Linked DNA regions of Homo sapiens: all the other regions are linked to region 1. Evidence: promoter capture Hi-C in human tissues and cell types (Jung and others, 2019). All regions are on one chromosome and are shown on one strand. Each heading gives the region's core, a stretch centred on a gene start or on the middle of the fragment in contact. The rest is flanking DNA. Distances are from core to core; before and after follow the strand shown. Region 1 holds the start of ZNF708 (zinc finger protein 708). Region 2 has its middle 44 kb from the start of ZNF708. Region 3 overlaps ZNF738 (zinc finger protein 738).

Region 1 (2,755 bases), core at 102-2,601:
GTACTGAAACCCAGGACCAGGAAAAAACTGAAGGGTGGCTGAAGACACATCACTCCGTAAAGTTTCCAAAGAAAAACCTTCACCTGAAAACAAACATTCTGATAAGATTTCTGTGCCTGAGGAAGATAAAAAAAAAAAAGCCATAGAAATTTCATAAAATACAGTGTCAGGGAATTATTTTTTGCTTTCTTCTCATGAGAAATATTTTCAACCAGAAAACAATTTTAAGTGCCATCCAATGCTTTGTCAAAAAATGATTAACTAAAATACAGTATCAAAAATGTACACTAAAGGAAAAACAGTTGAGAATGTGAATTAGGAAAGGCAAGCTGGCATTTGGAAATGTCAGAAGGAACTAGAAATTTAGTATTTTAGTTTATTTGCAGTTTAAATCTAACTGCAGGCCAGAGTTAGGCTGGAGGAATGGGGCTGGGAGGTACACTTGAGACCCCGCTTGGAACGCATGTGAAAAATGCAGGGGAAAATCAGTCCCCTGTGGAGTGTGAGAATAATTAAGTGGCAGGCAATTACACTGAGGAGGCTCTAGTCCCCGGCTTTCTACTTAACAGCAACAGCTACGTAAATGTACCTAACCGATTATTAAATATAGTTTTCTTCATCATGCACCTTATAAAAAGTCTTTCCTTCAAGCTCCTCCCATGAACCACAAACTACAAAACATACTTTTGTGCTCTACAATTATTGAATCACTCTTTGATTAAATTCTTTAATATTTTTTGCGATGACTGCCACAGATTTTTAATAGGAGAAAATAGGAACCGGGAACCCCACAGACCAAAGCTCTTCCCATTCATGAACCCGACCCCAAGTCAGGATTCTCCCCTGACCACCCTCCCATGGTCCCTGCACAATCTGGGAGAGGCGCGGCGCTGCCGGTGCAGAGCCGCCCAGAGAGGGCTGCAGGCCAGGGCACAGTCACTGCGCAGGGAAGAGACAGGACGCCCGGGGGCCCGGCTGTCGGCGCAGCCGCCATCTTATGGCTGAAGGGGACTGAGGCCGAGCTAGGCAAGGAGAACTCGGAGCGCAGATTGTGGAGATGACTGCGGGGAGTCCTGAGTCCCGCCACAGCCACTTCCCACAGGTTTCAACCAGCCCTTCCCCTCTCTCGGGATGTCGGACGGCACTCTCACCATTTCTAGGCTTCCAGAGGGTCCTGGAGTCTTAGCTGTGGATCTCCCAATACCTGCAGGTCACAGAGCCACAGAGTCTGGGCCTCTAGGAGCAGAGGACAAACAGCAGTGAAGACGAGACCGGAGCTCCGGCTGCAGCAAGAGACAAAGGCCGCGCCAAACCCGGAAGCCGCCCTGTCCGGTCCAGCTGCGTGTCTGAGTGAACTGTCCCCAGCTCAGAGTCCCTGATTGGATAATGTTAAAACCCGCCCCTTCAGGCCCTGAGGGACGGAAGATGTGATCAGATGCTGGGCTGAATGAAGTGTGACAGCCTATGCTGCAGCCTTTTCAGGCAAGGCTTCCTCCCTGAGCTGAGCCAGGCCCACCCGAGAGGGTGTTTGCCTTTAATCTTGTGTATAAGGTCATATGCCCTTATAAATAATATGCTATATGGCTATTCACAAATGAAAAGAATATAATAACCCAATTGTTCTAAAAAAAATTTTTTTTTTGAGATTGAGTTTCACTCTTGTTGCCCAGGCTGGAGTGCAATGGCGCGATCTTGGCTCATCGCAACCTCCACCTCGCGGGTTCAAGCGATTCTCCTGCCTCAGCCTCCCGCGTAGCTGAGATTACAGGCATGCGCCACCATGCCCGGCTAATTTTTTTGTATTTTTAGTAGAGACGGGGTTTCTCCATGTTGGTCAGGCTGGTCTCAAACTCCAGACCTCAGGTGATCCTCCCGCCTCGGCCTCCCAAAATGCTGGGATTACAGGCATGAGCCACTGCGCCCGGCCCAACTGTTCTAAAATTTTATATTTTGTGACCTTCCTGACTTCTGGTCCTTTGAGCAGGCAGCCTGAGATTTTAAAAAGGAGGCAATTCTCTGAAATAAAATGTGAGCCACAAGTTGGGCGCTGTACCTCACGCCTGTAATCCCAGTACTTCGGGAGGCCGAAGAGGGTGGATCATCTGAGGTTCAGAGTTCGAGATCAGTCTGGCCAACATGGTGAAACCCCGTCTCTAAAACAATACAAAAAAATTAGCTGGGCATGGTGGCAGGCGCCTGTAATCCCAGCTACTTGGGAGGCTGGGGCAGGAGAATCGCTTGATCCTGGGCGGTGGAGGTTGCAGTGAGACGAGATCACGCCACTGCACTCCAGTATGGACAACAAGAGTGAAACTCTGTCTCAAAAAAAATAAATAAATAAAATAAAATCATAAAATGTGAGCCACATGTAAATTTTAAATTTTCTAGTAGCCAAACTTTATTTTATATTTTTATTTTTTTAGACGGAGTCTCACATTGTTGCCTGGGCTGGAGTGCAATGGCGCGATTTCTGCTCACTGCAACCTCTGCCTCCCGGGTTCAAGCGATTCTCCTGCCTCAGCCTCCCAAGTAGCTGAGATAAAAGGCGCTGGCCACCATGCCCGGCTAATTTGTAGCCAAACTTTAAAAAGAGTTTAGCTCTATTTTTAAAAAGAAACAAAGAACAGGTGAAATTGATTGTAACAATTTAACCCAATATATCGAAAATATTGTCATTTTAATATGTGAGAAATATGTAATTATTAATGAAGTGTGTCTATATATATGGAACTAAACCTTTGAAACTAACTCGTAT
Region 2 (2,755 bases), core at 117-2,616, 44 kb before region 1:
CTTTGTAGTACAAGCCAGGTAATGTGAGGCCTCCAGGATTGCTTTGTTGTTAATGTTGCTTTGGCTAAATGGGCTGTTTTATTCTTCCATATGACTTTTAGAATGGTTTTCTTTTTCTAATTCCATAAAAAGTTGCATTTATAGTTTGAGAGAAGTAGCACTTAATCTGTAAGTTGCTTTAGGCAGCACGGACATTTTAATTATATTGATTCTTTAAATTCATGAGCATGGAGTGCCTTTTTACTTATTTGCGTTGTCTCTATTTTTTTTCAGCAGTTTTGTAGTTCTTGTTGTAGAGATATTTTACCTCCTTGATTTAATGTATTACTAGGTACATATTTTTTTGTTTGTAGCTATTGTAAATAGAACCATGTTCTTTTTTTCTCAGCTTGAATATTATTGGTGCACAGAAATGCTACTCATTTGTGTATGTTGATTTAGTATGGTGAGACTTTGCTGAAGTCATTCTTTAGGCTTAGAAATCTTTTGGTGAAATCTTTTTCGGTGAAGTTTCCCAGGTAGAGAATTATATCACCAGTGAAGATAATTTGACTTCCTCTTTTTCTATTTGAATACATTTTATTGCTTTATCTTGTTAAATTGCTGTGGCTACGACTTTCAGGACTATGTTGAATAGAAGTGTTTAGAGTGGATACTCTTTGTCTTTTTTTTTTTTTTTTTTTGAGATGGAGTCTCACTCTTGTTGCCCAGGCTGGATTGCAATGGCATGATCTCAGTTCACTGCAACCTCTGCCTCCCACATTCAAGTGATTCTCCTGCCTCAGCCTCCTGAGTAGCTGGGATTACACATGCCTGCCAGCACGACAGGCTAATTTTTTGTATTTTTAGTACAGACAGAGTTTCACCCTGTTGGCCAGGCTGGTCTTGAACTCCTGACCTCAGGTGATCCACCCACCTCAGCCTCCCAAAGAGCCGGGATTACAGGCGTGAGCAACTGCACCCAGCCTTATTTTTATTCTGATGGAGACCTCATCCAGGTTTTGCCCGCTCAGTATGATGTTGGCTGAGGATTTGTCATGGATGGCTCTTATTATTTTCAGGCATATTTCTCCAGTGCTTAGTTTGTTGAGAATGTTTTTATAAATGAGTATTAGATTTTCTTGAATGCCTTTTCTGCATGTGATAATTGTTTTTTAAAAATTATCTTTACATGGTGAATCACATTTATTTACTTGTATATGATGAAACATCTTTGCATTCATACAATGAAGTTTACATGATTGTGGCAAAATAACTTTTTGCTTTGCTTATGAACTCAACTTGCTAGTACTTCATGAATTTTTGTTTCAATTTTCACCAAGAATAGTGACCGGTAATTTTCCTTTTTTGTTGTGTCTTCACTAGGTTTTACTACCAAGATAATAATGTTTTCAAATAATTTAGGAAGGACTTCCACCTTGATTTTTGGAATACACTCAGTAGAATTAATACCAGGTTATCTTTGTATATGTGATAAAATGTGGCTGTGAACTCATCTTATCCAGGGCTTTCTATGGTTGGTAGCTTGTTTTATTAGTAATTCAATCTTATTATATACTTTATACATTGTTGCTCTGTTCAAGACTTCTGTTTCTTTCTGGTTCAATGCTGAGAAGCTGGATGTATCCAGGAGTTTATCTATTTTCTCTAAATTTTTTAGTTTGCATGCATAGAGATGTGCATAGTAGTCTCTGAGGATGTTTACTATTTATGTGAAATTAGTTGTGATATCACAACTCTAACATTTAAATAGATGCAGAATAAAAGCTTGACAAAATTTGGCTGGGTGCAGTGGCTCACACCTGTAATCCCAGCACTTTGGGAGGTCGAGGCGGGTGGGTCACCTGAGGTCAGGAGTTCGAGACCAGCCTGGCCAACGTGGGGAAACCCTGTCTCTACTAAAAATACAAAAATTAACTGGGCGTGGTGGCTCACGCTTGTAATCCCAGCTACTCAGGAGGCTGAGGCAGGAGAATTGCTTGAACCTGGGAGGCAGAGGTTGCAGTGAGCCGAGATCGTGCCAGTGCACTCCAGCCTGGATGACAAGAGTGAAACTCCAGCCAAAAAAAAAAACAAAAGTTTGACAAAATTCAACATTCCCTCATGATAATCTCTAAAAAATAATTAGTATAGGACAAATGCATCTCAAGCCAATAAATGCCATGTATAGAAAAAAATGTCCAGCTAACAACATATTAAACAGTGAAATGTAAGCTCTTACTCTAAGACCTAGAACAAGACAGGGATGCCCTCTTTCTTCCTTTTCCTTTCTTCCTTTCCTTCTCTCCTTTTCTTGCTTCTCTTTCTTTCTCTCTCCTTTCTTCCTTTCCTTCTCTCCTTTTCTTTCTTCTTTCTTTCTCTCTCTCCTTCCTTCCTTTTCTTTCTTTCTTGTTCTTTCTTCTTTTTTTTTTTTGACGGAGTCTCACTCTTGTCACCCAGACTGGAGTGCAATGGCACAATCACAGCTCACTGCAACCTCTGTCTCCCAGGTTCAAGCGATTCACCTCCCTCTGCCTCCCAAGTAACTGGGATTACATGCACCTGCCACCATATCCAGTTAATTTTTGTATTTTTAGTTAGACTGGGTTTCACCATGTTGGCCAAGCTGGTCTCGAACTCCTGACCTCAGGTGATCCACCTGCCTTGGCTTCCCAAAGTGCTGGGATTACAGGCATGAGCCACCACTCCTGAGCAGATGACCACTTTCTTCATTCTTAACTAAACATAATACTAAATGTCCAAAGAGAGAAATTGT
Region 3 (2,755 bases), core at 167-2,666, 48 kb after region 1:
GATTCTGGGAAGCCTGAGGTGTGTGGTTTTTTTGTTTGTTTTCTTTTTGTTGTTGTTACTGTCACATAGGGCCATCTTCTGTCTTAGGCTTTTAAATTCTCTAAGGATTCTACTTTCCCTTCATTGATTTTCCTTCAAGTTCACAGTGAGAGCCAGAGTCCTCTTCATGGCATATAAAAGACTGCACAATCTGACTGCATTTCCATTGTTTTGGGGGACACACAAATATCTGCATGATTTTGAGAAACTTTATGTTAAACTATTTTTTTAGTTCTCTTTTGCATCATGTCTAAAATGTGTGAGAGTAGTGGTCACTGTTCTATTGGTTTTTATGTTAATTTTCTGCACATTCCATCTTTTTTTATTAGTATATTCTTGAAATATAGTCTGAAATTATAAAATATAATGTCTCTCTGCTTTGTTCTTTTTCCTCAAGATTGCTTTGGCTATTCAAAGTTTATTGTAGTTTTTTTGTTTTGTTTTGTTTTTTGTTTTGAGATGGAGTTTCACTCTTGTTGCCCAGGTTGGAGTGCAAAGGCGCCATCTTGGCTCATCGTAACCTCTGCCTCCAGCGATTCTCCTATGTCAGCCTCCCGAGTAGCTGAGACTACAGGCATGCACCACCATGAGAGTTTTTAGTAAAAACTCATGTTTTTATAAAAAGTTTTATTAAAAAATTGGATTTTTAGTATACTTGCCTTGGCCTCCCAAAGTGTTGGGATTACAGGCGTGAGCCACTACACCCAGCCTTTTTTTCTATTTTATACTTTCATTCCATTTTGGTCATAGGATGTAATTCATAAAATGTCAAATTTAACAAATTTTTATGACTCCGTTTTTGGCCTAACAGGTGGTCTATCAAAGAGAATGTTGCATAAGCTATTTTGAAGGATGTGTTTCCTCATATTCTTGAGGACTCTTCTCTATTTCTCTGTTAAAAATAATTGTACAGGCTGGGCGCAGTGGCTCATGCCTGTAATCCCAACACTTTGGGAGGCCGAGGCGAGCGGATCATCTGAGTTTGGGAGTTTGAGACCAGCCTGACCAACATGGAGAAACCCCATCTCTACTAAAAATACAAAATTAGCCAGGTATGGCAGCACGTGCCTGTAGTCCTAGCTACTCAGGAGGCGGAGGCAGAAGAATCGCTTGAACCCAGGAGGCGGAGGTTGTGGTGAGCTGAGATCGTGCCATTGCACTCCAGCCTGGGTAACAAGAGCAAACTCCATCTAAAAAAAAAAAAAATTGTATTATACTGCCTTCAGTTCCTCTCTTCACTTACTAATATTCTGTCTTGTTTTATTTTTATTACAGAAAGTGGGGTATTGAAATTTCCTACTATAATTATATTGCTGTCTAGGTGTTTCTTCCAGTCTGTCAATATTTGCTTTATATATTTGGAACCTTAGTGTGACATACACACAGACACACAGACGTGCACACACACACACACACACACAAAATTTGTCATAGGTTCCCAGTTAATAAATCTATTATTGTTTAATGTCTTTCTTTGTCTCTTTGCAGTTTTGACTTAAAGTACTTTATGTAAGATATGACAGTTTTTGACTTAAGATGTGGCTTTTGTAATACTATTTTGACCTCTTCTGCTCTCATTTGGTTAATATTTGCATGCAATGTCTAAATCTATCTTGCCACCTTCAGTATGTTTTTAATCATTAGATGTCAGCTGACCCTTGTAGAAAGGCAAATTGGATCTTGGTTTTTAATAATTTTAAATAAATTTCTTTATTGAAAGTATGTCTCTTGATTGGAAAGTTTTCTGAAACAAAGAGACTTACTAATTTTTTTTGTTGTTCTATTTGATTCTTGCATCTTTGTCCCACATTTTCTCTCTTTGTTTCTCTCTGTGGCTGTTTTATTTTTACTTTGATATGCTTTTACTTCTTTCTTATGTTGTTTTCTGTGTCTATACAGGCATATTCTTTGTGGTACGTGGGGGATTACATAAAACCTTTAAGAGATACAATGTATTTCAGTCTAGTTAAAAATGAACTTTTGTTGCATGCAAAAATTTTTTCTCATTACATATGTTCTCAGATTTGTTCTTGATGTTGCTAATTATATTTTTATATGTATATTTATTAACATGTTTATAATGATTTCTATGCCTTTATCTTTCAAATTTTGGGGAATAATTAAAAATTTCTTCTGTGCCATTATGATAATGCTAAGAAATGTATTTTTGTGTATGTGCGTATCTTTCCCAGAAAATAATGTGTTTTAATATGATTTTGTGTTGCTTTGTTAAATCATCTTATTTTCATTGGAAGCAACTGTTTTCAGCACCTTTTATATGTAAGGAAGTACCAATATACTTTTTAAAATTTGGTTATTTTTGAAGTTTGTTTTCTTTTTATTTAGCAGGACAGATTTGGTGATGGTATTATACTCACTTGATAACTATTTTCTTCAGATTTCACTATATCACACAGTTTTCTTCTGTCCTGAAAAATTTTTGTTGAGAATCCACTGGCTATCTCATAAGAGTATTCTTGCAAATAATATCACTTTTTTTTTTTTTTTTTTTGAGATGGAGTTTCACTGTTGTTCCCCAGGCCGGAGTGAAATGGCGCGATTTCACCTCGCTGTGTCCCAGGTTCAAGCAGTTCTCCTACCTCAGCCTCCCGAGTAGCTGGGATTACGGGCATATGCCACCACACCCAGCTAAGTTTGTATTTTTAGTAGAGACAGGGTTTCTCCATGTTGGTCAGGCTAGTCTCGATCTCCTGAC

The links. Contacts are between HindIII fragments. The study calls those that stand out against the background at their distance.
Region 2: a contact is called between a fragment that was not itself captured here and the fragment with the promoter of ZNF708 in region 1, in 1 of the 25 tissues and cell types used here (aorta).
Region 3: a contact is called between a fragment that was not itself captured here and the fragment with the promoter of ZNF708 in region 1, in 1 of the 25 tissues and cell types used here (H1 embryonic stem cells).

Annotation. Positions count from the first base shown.
Region 1 is chr19:21,328,059-21,330,813 of GRCh38, forward strand. ZNF708 (zinc finger protein 708) reads right to left here and starts at 1,352. Exons shown (of 4, transcript NM_021269.3): 1 at 1,152-1,352. The coding sequence starts at 1,154. RefSeq lists enhancers at 905-1,104, 1,145-1,324, 1,209-2,197 and a silencer at 1,444-1,665. The HindIII fragment of the contact is 12,621 bases long and covers 1-2,755 here.
Region 2 is chr19:21,284,523-21,287,277 of GRCh38, forward strand. It overlaps the pseudogene COX16P1. Among named protein-coding and RNA genes, the nearest start is that of ZNF708, 44 kb to the right of the region's middle. The HindIII fragment of the contact is 4,282 bases long and covers 1-2,755 here.
Region 3 is chr19:21,376,075-21,378,829 of GRCh38, forward strand. All of the region lies in intron 4 of ZNF738 (zinc finger protein 738), which reads left to right. Among named protein-coding and RNA genes, the nearest start is that of ZNF738, 18 kb to the left of the region's middle. The HindIII fragment of the contact is 5,127 bases long and covers 1-2,755 here.